3 separate regions of the Homo sapiens genome follow, and regions 1 and 2 are each linked to region 3. The links are contacts of gene promoters, found by promoter capture Hi-C in human tissues and cell types (Jung and others, 2019). All regions are on one chromosome and are shown on one strand. The core of a region is centred on a gene start or on the middle of the fragment in contact, and the rest is flanking DNA. Distances in the headings are between cores, read along the strand shown. Region 1 overlaps GOLGA7 (golgin A7). Region 2 has its middle 20 kb from the start of GOLGA7. Region 3 holds the start of NKX6-3 (NK6 homeobox 3).

The links. Contacts are between HindIII fragments. The study calls those that stand out against the background at their distance.
Region 1: a contact is called between a fragment that was not itself captured here and the fragment with the promoter of NKX6-3 in region 3, in 1 of the 25 tissues and cell types used here (spleen).
Region 2: a fragment that was not itself captured here is called in contact with the fragment with the promoter of NKX6-3 in region 3 in 1 of the 25 tissues and cell types used here (spleen).

The regions. Positions count from the first base shown.
Region 1 is chr8:41,509,137-41,513,238 of GRCh38, reverse strand. GOLGA7 (golgin A7) reads right to left here. Exons shown (of 5, transcript NM_001002296.2): 5 at 2,259-3,655. It also overlaps the pseudogene KRT18P37. Among named protein-coding and RNA genes, the nearest start is that of GINS4, 18 kb to the left of the region's middle. The HindIII fragment of the contact is 4,424 bases long and covers 1-3,785 here.
Region 2 is chr8:41,469,213-41,472,876 of GRCh38, reverse strand. No RefSeq gene overlaps it. Among named protein-coding and RNA genes, the nearest start is that of GOLGA7, 20 kb to the left of the region's middle. The HindIII fragment of the contact is 4,012 bases long and covers 377-3,664 here.
Region 3 is chr8:41,648,357-41,652,218 of GRCh38, reverse strand. NKX6-3 (NK6 homeobox 3) reads left to right here and starts at 1,402. Exons shown (of 3, transcript NM_001364841.2): 1 at 1,402-2,108. The coding sequence starts at 1,727. The HindIII fragment of the contact is 20,465 bases long and covers 1-3,862 here.

The DNA of each region.
Region 1 (4,102 bases), core at 324-2,823, 140 kb after region 3:
CACCACTGCACTCCAGCCTGGGTGACAAGAGCGAAACTCCATCTCAAAAACAAAAACAAAAAATGGAATCTGTATTTGGATTGTTTGTAACACAGTGCTTGAGGGGGATGAGTAGCCCATTTGACATACTGTAATTATTACGCATTGCATGCCTGTATCAAAACATCTCATGTACACCGTGAATATAGACACCTATGTACCCAGAAAAAAAAATAATAAAACTACACTGAGTCATCAGGTGATCCAAGATAGTAACAATAACTGTGATGCCTTTTTCCTAATGAAACATGCCAATGTCTTATTTCTTTAAATATGTTTTTTAGGCTGGGTGTGGTGGCTCACACCTGTAATCCCAGCACTTTGGGAGGCTGAGGCAGGCAGATCACCTGAGGTCAGGAGTTTGAGACCAGCCTGGCCCACATGGTGAAACCCTGTCTCTACTAAAAATAAAAAAATTAGCTGGGCATGGTGGCGGGCGCCTGTAATCTCAGCTACTCGGGAGGCTGAGGAAGGAGAATCACTTGAATCCGGGAGGCGGAGTTTGCAGTGAGCCGAGATGGTGCCATTGCACTCCAGCCTGGGCAAAAAGCAAAACTCCATCTCAAAAAAAATATACATTTTTTAATTACCATGGACTATTCCTTGATGTTTTTTTGACCTCTGAACTTTTTATTGGCCTCTTACTCCCCACAGGGTACCCTGCTTCTGCTGGCTTAATGTCTCAGAACTTTGGTGTCACTGATCTCAGACACCACTTTGCTATCCACTATCTGGCGGGTGGTGGTCTTTTGGATGGTTTGCATGGAGTTGCTGCTGTCCAGGGCATCACCAAGATTGAGGCCCTCGCTGTCTTCCAGCAGGCGGCGGTAGGTGGCGATCTCAGCCTCCAGCTTGACCCTGATGTTCAGCAAGTCCTTGTACTCCTGGACCTTGCGCTGGCCCTCTGCCCAGTTCTGTGCCAGCTTTGACTCCAAGTACAGCAGGATTCTGTTGAGCTGCTCCATCTGCAGGGCGTAGCGGGCCTCCACCTCCCTCAGGCTGTTCTACAAGCTGGTCTTCAGATTTCTCATTGAGTCCAGGTCAATCTCCAAGCACTGGACTGTACGTCTCAGCTCCGTGTCATCTCAGCAGCTCTGACCTTGGCAGAGTGTGTGGTGACCACTGTGGTGCTCTCCTCAGTCTGCTGAGACCAGTACTTGCCTAGCTTCTCTGAGTTCTTCTGAGACAGCTCATCCTATTGGGCCCTGATGTCTGCCATGACCTTGGCGAGGACTTGAGATTTGGGGGCATCTACCTCCACGGCCAACCCAGAGTTGGCAATCTGGACTTGCAAGCCTTTTACTTCCTCTTCATGGTTCTTCTTCATGAGGAGCAGCTCCTCCTTGAGAGCGCCCATCTCTGTCTCCAGCTGCAGCAGAGTGACATTGGTGTCATCAATGACCTTGCAGAGCCCATGGATGTTGCTCTCCACAGACTGGCGCATGGCCAGCTCTTGTCTCATACTTGACTCTGAAGTCATCAGCAGCAAGACGGGCATTGTCGATCTGCAGAATGATGTGGACATTGTCCACAGTATTTGCGAAGATCTGAGCCCTCAGTTCCTTGATGGTCTTGAAGTAATGGCCCCAGTCTCTGACATGGGGTCTCTTCTCCAGATACTCCTGGATTTTGCTCTCCAGCCTCCAGTTCTCGGTCTCCAGGTTCCTCACTCTGTCCAGGTAGTCCAGGTGGTCGTTCAGGCTTTGCATGGTCTCCTTCTCATTCTGGATGCCCCCCATTTCTGCCAGACCCCCAGCCATCTCTGTGGCCAGGCCCCCAGACCCCAAGCCGCCCCAGAAACTGGTAGAACAGGACATGGAGATCTGGGATCCCAAGCCCCCCAGTGCCTGCATAGATGCTGGCTGCGCTGCTGACCGGCCAGGTGCCATAGCTGGGCGGCTGGACAGAGCCCAGGGACTGGTAGTTGGTGGAGAAGGTGGAGGGAGTGGTGAAGCTCATGCTGTCCGGGGAAGAGAGCAGGCTTTGTCAACGACTACTCCTTAATTTTTACTTATAATATACCTGCTGTTGTAAGATAAAGCAGGTAAGAAATTGAGAGGTGTGACATAGAAATGTAAGATGTTTATTTTAAAACACTAAGCTACATTGTACGGTACACTACTACAATTCTAGTATTATCTGACAAATTTAGTGTCCTATCATTTACCACTTTACCATCATTTACTACCAAATCCCACCAAATATGACACAGAGACAACTTGTTTAAGAAAAGTTTTATTAATGTGTTAATATTTCAGCAAAGTTATTGCAACAGGTTGAAAATGCAGACACACTATTACAGGCTGTAAAGTAACAAATGAGTTTTACACAATTAAAATATTAACACATACTTATGGGATTTGTTGAATGACTAACAGACCCATAAAAGAAATTAAATCTGAGACGAAATCCAGTATTAGCACCTACAATATATCTGACAGTGAAACTTTTAATGGTTTCTCTCTCCTAATGTATTTTTAAACTCTCTCCCAAATACAGCGCTCTCAAACCCCAAGGATAAACGAAAGGCATAAGCAGCCCCGATCCTAGGAACGTACAGCCAAAAGCAGAGCTACAAATATGGACTCAGACTTGAGAGTTTTACTGAGAAGTAACTTACTGTACTTGAGCCAATCATAAGATTTCTGTGCACTGAATACTGTATATGAGAAAATTCTGTGGGTCATAAGGTTTGCCTTAGGGATAGTTAAAAATTAGTAATATACAGTATTATTCCTATCAAATTTTTTTCTCATAAGTTATATTTATAACAAAACTATAATTAAAATATTTTTTATACCTGCTTATTCCATATCCAGGGACACAGCGGGAACATTTATGTGTCTGATGGTTTGGCATCCACTTTATTGTGCTTACTGATTTTTGTGATGAACAAGCAGCACGTATCATATCTTTCCAACATTCAAGGTAATGGAACAATGACATAAAATTCTCCAAAGAAATAACTGGAAATTGCATTAAATACTGCTTTAATTAGGCATAATTGCTATAATAAAACAAATAACATTATACATTTTTTTTTCAATAAGCTTCAGTTTGAGGAACTGAATAGTAGAAACAGATCTTAAGATTTGAGTCATGGTAAAACCAGTAATTCTTTGAAATCTGGGAGGTGCAAAACGACAGCCACAGCCAACCCTCACCAAAATCCTGGAGAAAAACATTTTATTAATTTAGGGGAACAAGATAGAACACTGGTGAAGATACGGCTTGTTGAGGTCTAAAGCCACCTGAGAAGCTGGCCCAAGGAATGAAGAGAACCAATGGTATGTACTGGTGGCAGATAACAAGCTTTGCACTGGGCTGACCAACTGTGTTTTATTAAATGGCTTTGAATAAAAAAAAGTGAAGTGCTTCATTGTGTTTTCTCAGAAACTAATCAAAAGATTACAGAGTCCTACACAATTTGGAGACACAAAGTGGATGCTGAGCGACTAGAGGTCACTCCAGGTGTGGAATTTTAGAAAGTGAGTCCTTGGAGTAAATGGCACCGTGGCTCTGGCAGCAGATAGAAAGGAATGATGCTCTGGAGAGGAGGTAGGGACACTCTGCGGTCGGCCAGTGGATACATGAGGGGCCCGGCTGGAAGTGGGATCTGTAATTAGAGGGAGAAGTAAAGGTTTGATAGAGATCCTGAAAATAACTTGTAAAACCATTTTTCTTCCATCAACTGATATCAGCTTATAACATGTGGTCTATGTTCTACTAACCTAGAATTTTATCTACTAAAATATCTTGGTACCATTTGTCTAAATGAGTCTACAGCTCAATAGTCTACAAATCTAAGTCCTATATATTCAGATCTCTGACCAAGCACATCACCATGGAGCCACGCTGCCTTGACTGCTGTCTACTAGCTGTTTGTCCTTGGGCCAGCAACTTAAGTTCTCTCTGCCTCGGCTTCCTCATCTGAAAAACAGGGATAACAATATCTACCTCATAGGGTTGTTGTGATGATTAAAATTAAGCATTTAGAATAGTGCTGGCACAGATGTGCCAACAAACATTAGCTGTTTTTATTATCACTAGTTGTGATGGAATA
Region 2 (3,664 bases), core at 1,133-3,632, 180 kb after region 3:
GCTCAAAAACAGCATTTCTTAAAAACTTCCCTGTATTAGTAACTCAGAGACATTTTGGACCTTTTAAATGCTTCACTAATATTTGAGTTGAAAGCTCTATTTCTATTTCCTAATCGCCTCGATTTTCATCTAAATCAAATAGCAATTTCAGCACCTTCAAGTAGGGATAGTGTTAAGAGCTGACTTGTGTCCCCTCTAAAATTTAGTCTTAACTCCCAGGACCTCAGAATGTGACTGTATTTGGAGACTGGATCTTTAAGGAGGCGATTAATTAGCGGGGTTTGGTGGTGCGTGTCCCAGCTGCTTGGGAGGCTGAGGCGGGAGGCTCACTTGAGCTCAAGAGTTTGAGGTTGCAGTGAGCCATGATCTCACCTCTACAAAGAGGGTGCTTAGAGAGCCCAAAAAGTCCTTTTCTTTTCTTTTCTCTCTCTCTTTCTTTCGAGAGAGAGTCTTGTTCTGTCGCCCAGGCTAGAGTGCAGTAGCGCAATCTTGGCTCACTGCAACCTCTGCCTCCTGGGTTCAAGTGATTCTCCTGCCTCAGACTCCGGATTACAGGTGCATGTAATTGGGATTACATGCATGCCACCATGTAATCTGGGATTACAGGTAACTGGGATTACAGGTGCATGCCACTACTCCCGGCTAATTTTTGTATTTTCATTAGAGATGGTGTTTCACCATGTTGGCCGGGCTGATCTCCAACTCCTGACCTCAGGTGTCCCAAAGTGCTGGGATTACAGGTGTGAACCACTGCACCCGGGCTTGAACTGGCTAGTTTTAACCACATTTTCTGAAATATATTTAATGAAACTATGCAGTTTTAGTTAATGCCTAGCCAAGAATCTGGCTCGAGTGATAAAATGAAATGGCTCTGAATTCAGTACAGGGAAAATGAGTTACTCTACCAAATACTAGTTTAAAGGTGTCCTGCCGAACTCCTATTAACCTCAAGAGAGAAGGCTCCAGGTTCAAGAGGCTGAAGAAGAGACCCAGAAATAGCAAACGAGACATGAGGTTTTGCTTTTGTTTTTGTTCTTTTGAGACAGAGTTTCACTCTTGTTGCCCAGGCTGGAGTGCAATGGCATGATCTCAGCTCACTGCAACCTCCGCCTCCCAGGTTCAAGTGATTCTCCTGCTTCAGCATCCCGAGTAGCTGGGATTACAGGCATCACCACCATGCCCGGCTAATTTTGTATTTTTAGTAGAGACAGGGTTTCTCCATGTTGGTCAGGCTGGTCTCGAACTCTCGACCTCAGGTGATCCACCCACCTTGGCCTCCCAAAGTGATGGGATTGCAGGCGTGAGCCACTGCACCCGGCCGAGACATGAGGTTTTATTAGGGGCTTACAGATAGGGAGAGACTCCAGTGGCGGTGGGCTGGACAGGAGAACCCCAACTGCTGGTAAACAGCATGCAGTTTATATATCACTTTCACTTAACAACCTCTTCTTAATGACCTCCACCTGGAAACCTTCACTTAACCCAAAACTCAGGCCCTCAATTCTCTATTTGGCCCGTGTCCCGCGGACCAGGCCAGGGGCTTACACATTCCTTATAGGCAAGGAACAAATCTCCAGGTTGGCCACCCTGGATTCCTTAGCTCAGAACACATGTTCAGGTGCATCTGCCATACAGGGCCATTCTAGGGATATGCTTAATTATTGTTGTCAGGTGCGTTTACCCTACAAAAGGCTGCCGGCCAAAAATGTGGTAGAGTTAGAATACGCATCCAGGTCTTCTGACCCTGTAATTTGGGGCTCCTTCCCCACATTCATCGTCTCTCTCTGAATGTTAATGTGTTGCCCACAGCATCTCTCTCCCCAGTCATTCCCTTGGAAGGGTGAGTTCCAGAGAGAACCTCTCAAGATGTTCATGGAACCACCAAGGCCGACTTGTATTAAGTCCCTTTCACACCCACACCCTGATTTGTGGAAGACCCTTTCTGGTTTCAGTACATACGTCAGGCACATGTGGATAGTTGCACATCTGATTTTCATAATCATTTTCAGCCTCAAAATATTTACAGATGTCAACTAGTGAGTCCTCAGAGAGTCCTCCAGTGAGGCAAGCAGTTCTAATTTCAATTTTGTGAAAAGGGAAATTAAGGTACTGAGAAATGATGGGATTTCCTTTAAGCTCAGCAGGAGGCCCGATTCTAGAAAACCGGTTATTTCAGGCCAGGCTACATACACAAACTCAACACTCTTGGGCATAACGTCAGGTCCCTTAATTGCCTGTGAGGTGGCTGTGTCCTTATACTAGCACACTATGCGGACACAAATGAAGGAATGATGACACCTTAAGCTTATTCTTCCTGGGGCATTTATACTTACGCATTGAAGCAAACTGTAACATTTCAGGATCACTCCAAACAGAGAAGGGTACCATCAGCAAGAATCCCATGTGGATATCTGTAAGGATGTTGACATGCGATAAAAAAGCAAACTGTCATCTATCTTGATGAATATGGACTAAAGAAGACATTCTGATCTAAATCATTAAGGAAATACTATAGAACCACAAGGAATGCAAAATTTAAGCTCGCTATCTATCTCCATCCTCTTTTCTACACAGTCTCCTACTCAATGATTTTTCAACTTTAAGATGGTGTTAAACCATTGCAATTTCAATGTAATGTATAGTAGTAAATAAATTACATGAGATGTTCAACACCTTATTATAAAATAGGCTTTTTATTAGATCACATTGCCCAGCTGTAGGCTAATATAAGTGTTCTGAGCACTTTTAAGGCAGGCAAGGGTAAGCTATGGTGTTTGGGAGGTTAGGTATATCAAATGCATCTTTAACTTATTAGATTTTTGGCTTATGATGAGTTTATCAAGGTGTAACCCCATCTGGACTTTTATAAGCTAACTCATAGGTGACCACAAATGAAACTCTGCCTGGGTCATCCCAAAAGTCCCCAAGTATTCTAGCTTTGCACAGTCATCTTTTCCTTTACTATCCAAATAAAGTGATGTGCACAACAGGAAATGCTTAGGTTCCTACAAGAACTGAGACATTAAGCAAATGTCTTTCGGGATGCTGTCTAAGCCAGCTTTCTCTTTGAAGTCACTTAGAGATGGTGTGTTCATTACACCATCAAAGTGTTCAGCCTGTGCAGGGAGCTCTGAGAAGGTCAGCTGAGCAGGTCGGAGGTGGATCTGAAGAGACAGGGCGAGGCTGGGGGTGGGGTTTTCTGACTGTCCAGTTAAGAACTTACATTTTACCCTAAAGCAGGGGTGGATTCATGTTTTGTCGTTTTTGAAGTTTATCAAACTTGCGGGGGTGGTGATGAGGGATGAGGCCCCACCACAGCCAGCTCTATGTCTCCAAACCAGACAGAGGAATCTGGATCTACATGCAGGGGAGATTTAGACTATGTAAGCTCCCATATGGGATGGCCAGACCACACCCTTTAGGAAGATTTTAGATAGCTCTGAGATATTCAGATAGATACTGAGGTTTCCATGCAGCCCAGGATATAAACTTCTCCAAGAGAAGAAAGAGAAAATCAGAACATGACTGGCCTGACTTTTGGGGGGGCCTTAGGATTGCATTTGGGATGAGACTGTGGAGTCATACAGATTTGGGAGAGGCAGAAAGAAGAAAAGGAGGGAGGGGAGTGGGCTGTGCCTAGGAGGTCTGTTTCTCTGGCCCCTTT
Region 3 (3,862 bases), core at 153-2,652:
TGAGAAGGAATCCTGCCCTGAGCCTTGGGTCCTCTGCTCCCCACTGAAAACCAAGACGGCCTGGAAACCCAGGAGAAGCTCAGTGAAGCAGTGCCTCTAGTCTCCCACCTACCAGGGCGGCCTCTGGGGAGTGAGAGAGCAAGCCCTGCAGAGCCCACGCCTGGTCAGGAAGGGCTCTGGGGCCACCAGGCACAGAGAGGAGCAGAAGTCCATCTGTCTGGCAGTCACAGTCTTTCCTAGCATTTTACATGTTCAGGCCAGTGGCATGCTAGTTTCCAGTTTTAGAGAAAAACTGCAGGGAAGAATCCTGCCTGGTCCAGAAATCACCCATGTACCTGGAAAGTGGGCTCCAATTCCTCTATACCTTGGTTTTCCTGTTTGTAAAATGAGAGCTTCCCCCAATAGAGCCTTGTATGTTGTAAAAATTTATTCGAGAAAAAAAAAAGCATATGCATGTTCTGTGATTCAGCCCAGTCCACTGCATCAACTACTAACTGAGCACCGACGGAGTGCCCGGCACGGGGCTCCACCACCCTCTCAGCCATCAGGGATTTCAAACCCGGGCACCACGCCAGACAGAGCATGGCCATTGCTCCAGCAGAGGCACAAATGAGGAAGAGATTCTGATAGGGAGGTCACGGAAGGCCGACCAGAGGTGGAGGCAAGAACATGCGTGCAGGGCGGCCCTCTCTTCAGCCTCCTGCAGTTGGAGGACTCACACCCCGGCACTGTCAGGGCTGCCTACGCCCCGCGCTGCCCTCTTCCCAGCAGGCTCCCACCCTAGGCTCTCAAGCCAGCCACAGGGACTTGCATCCCCCAGAAAGCAATGCCACTCAGCCTCTTACCCCATCCCCGCACTTACCCCCATCTTATGCCACTTACCCCATCCCCGCATGCGGAAGGGAAGGAAGCGGCTGCGTTCTCCTGTGGAGCTTGGACATGTGCACATAAAGGGGCCGGCGCAGCTCCGGACAGTGGCCTCTGAGTCCAGCCTCCTCTTCCCTAGGGGAGCAGCTGTAGGAACAGTGACTTCCAATTGCCTTGGGAGCCTCCAGGGGCCCCCAGACGCTCACCTTTTCCTAGATGCTAGACTTGCGGGGAGCAAATGGACCCTCCGGCGATGAGTAGGGCTTCTAGAGCTAATTCTCTGTCTCTCTCTCGCGCGCGCGCGCATACACACACACACACACGCGCGCGCGCGCGCGCGCGCGCACACACACACACACACACCCTGGCTGATTGTACAGTCAATCTTTCAAAGTGCAATTTGTCTAGGAAAAGCCAATGTGAGGCCCGTGTGCGCCCCGACCAATGGCGGCGCGGCTCCGGCGGCTCAGCCAGTCTCCGGCCTGTATTCTAATGGGCCGTATCTTTATCAGGGAAATGTTCCTTCTCTGAACTTAAAACTTCTCATGGAGGGTCCCCCGACTCAGAGGCAGAAAGGGGGTCTGAGCTGAGGCTTAGGGGGCCACCCTGTCCGGCCAGGGCAAGGAGAGAGGCCAGGAGCCCTGGGGAGGCCTCCCACCTGCCCCGAGCACCTGACTTCCGAGCAGCTGATCGGGTGCCGGTTCCTGGGCCAGGGCCTGGCCCATGCCTTAGGTGGGAGGCAGTCAGGAGCTCGGAGACGGTCCTAAGCCTCCAGGCCTGCCATGAGATTTGGGGCTAGAGAGTGGGCTCTTGGGTTTTAGGGGCCTGGAGAAGCCTTCCCTGTCCTGACTGGGAGATCATGGAGTCCAACCTGCAGGGGACGTTCCTGCTGAACAACACGCCGCTGGCTCAGTTTCCGGAGATGAAGGCCCCGGTGTGCCAGTACTCTGTGCAGAACTCCTTCTACAAGCTCAGCCCCCCAGGGCTGGGCCCCCAGCTGGCCGCCGGAACCCCCCACGGGATCACGGACATCCTGAGCAGGCCCGTGGCTGCGCCGAACAACAGCCTCCTCTCCGGCTACCCCCACGTGGCAGGCTTTGGGGGGCTCAGCTCGCAGGGGGTCTACTACAGCCCCCAGGTAGGGAATTTTTCCAAGGCTGGGAACGAGTACCCGACCCGGACCCGGAACTGCTGGGCGGACACGGGCCAAGACTGGCGAGGCGGGCGGCAGTGCAGCAACAGTGAGTACGGGTCCTCCCCAGCCACCTCCCGGCACCCGCCAGGCCCCGGGGGGCAGAGGACGAGGAGGGGCCTCCTCCCGGGCACCCTGCACCTCCGCCCTCTCCCCCAGTCGCCATTAACCCCTGGACTCGTAGCCTCAGCTCAGTGCAGGCTGAGTTCCACCCTCTCCTCCTTCCCATCCAGCAGTGCTTGGACACAGGTGTCTGAGCCACCCCCCTCACATGCCAGCCACCTCAGCTGCCCTCCTAGGGCCCCCGGCAGTTCCAGATGTAGAGAAGGCCCCACAGCCCACGCCTGCCCTGCACGAGGTCCAGTAGGCAGCCCAGCTGGCTTCTGCAGCCCAGGGCCCATGCAACCACTTCTTCACCCAAAGCAGGCAAATGCTACCCCCGTGAGGAAAATGTCCTAGCTCACCTTCCCAGAGAGCCCTGGCATCACTCAAGGGTGCAGAACGCACCCTGACCCCATCCGGGTCCAGCCTTTGAGCCAGGGGGCTGTTGCCCACCACATCCTCGGGTTTCTAGCAACAGCAGCCACACCAAGTAGCCTGTCTCGGGGAGTTGCTGCTGAGTCCAGCTGAACTTGGCCTTGGCTGTGGGGAAGCAGGGGGCCTCTTCTCAGCCGACCCATCCCTCAGCCAAGGTTTTCAGAGGGTGGGCCCGTGATGCCAGTCAGGGTTACTGGAGGAGGTGGCAGGGCAGGTGAGGCTCTGCTGGGAGGCAGGGAGGTGAGAGTTTTTGGAATCTTCTCCGTGCCACCGAAGCCCTGCCCACGTCAGGCAGGGGCCTCCATTTCTGTCTGATCTCCGGGCTCTCCTACGCCAATGGGGGCTTGGGGCCAACCTAGGGAACCCCAAAAGCACACCTGTCCCCCCATTTGCTACTCTGCCTTGCCGGTCACAGTGCCTGACAGCCACCCCTCCATGGGCTGCCACCCATCGCTGTGCCCCTGGGGGTGAAGGCCTCCTCTCTCAGATCCTGTTTTAGGCTTGGCTTCAGGGGTGCTTTAAGCCTCAGCTGACTCTCTCTTCCCTCCATCTCCCCCTCCCCTCTCCACATCCCACACACCACCTCTTCAGTCCTGAATGCAGGTACACACACAGGGACATAGCCAAGAAAGTCAGTGGCTAATGAAGGCAAAGGCAGAGAGACTTGAACATGATCTCTCAGGAGGGCTCTTCCTCTCTCTGTGCCTCAGTTTCCTCACCTGTAACTTGAGCTGTCAGACTGCACAGAACGAGGCCTGACATGTGGGAACCACTGCCCACAGCTCCTTCCCGAGCCTGCTGCCCTGGCCAGGCTGGGGGTCAGGGTCTCTGGCCTCTGTGCCAGGCTCTCCAGGGTGGTTGAAGCCACATAACTTCCAGGCCTGGTGACATGGGGAAGTGGCAGCTTGGGGCGTCAGGTTTGCCCCTCCCTGGTTTCCTGGAGACCTGGGAAGTTGAGTCTCAAGAGCAAGGAAGTTGGCGGAAGCCGGGGGTGGAGGGAATTCACAGGCCCTGGTCCCTAATTATAGGAGGAGGGTGACCTGAAGGGACATCCCTGGGACAGAGAGGGAACTCCTGTTGCCCCTCAGGGGAAGGCAACATCAGCGAGTATTGAGAACTTTAGACAGAGAGGCATGAGGCTCTGCTGCCCCTAAGTCCCATTACACTAGGGCAGCTGCCCTCTCGGAGCCCTGCCCATCCAGGCGGGGCAGAGGTCACAGTCACTGTTCCCCAATATCAAGAATGCTGCTCAGGGGAAAGGAATCT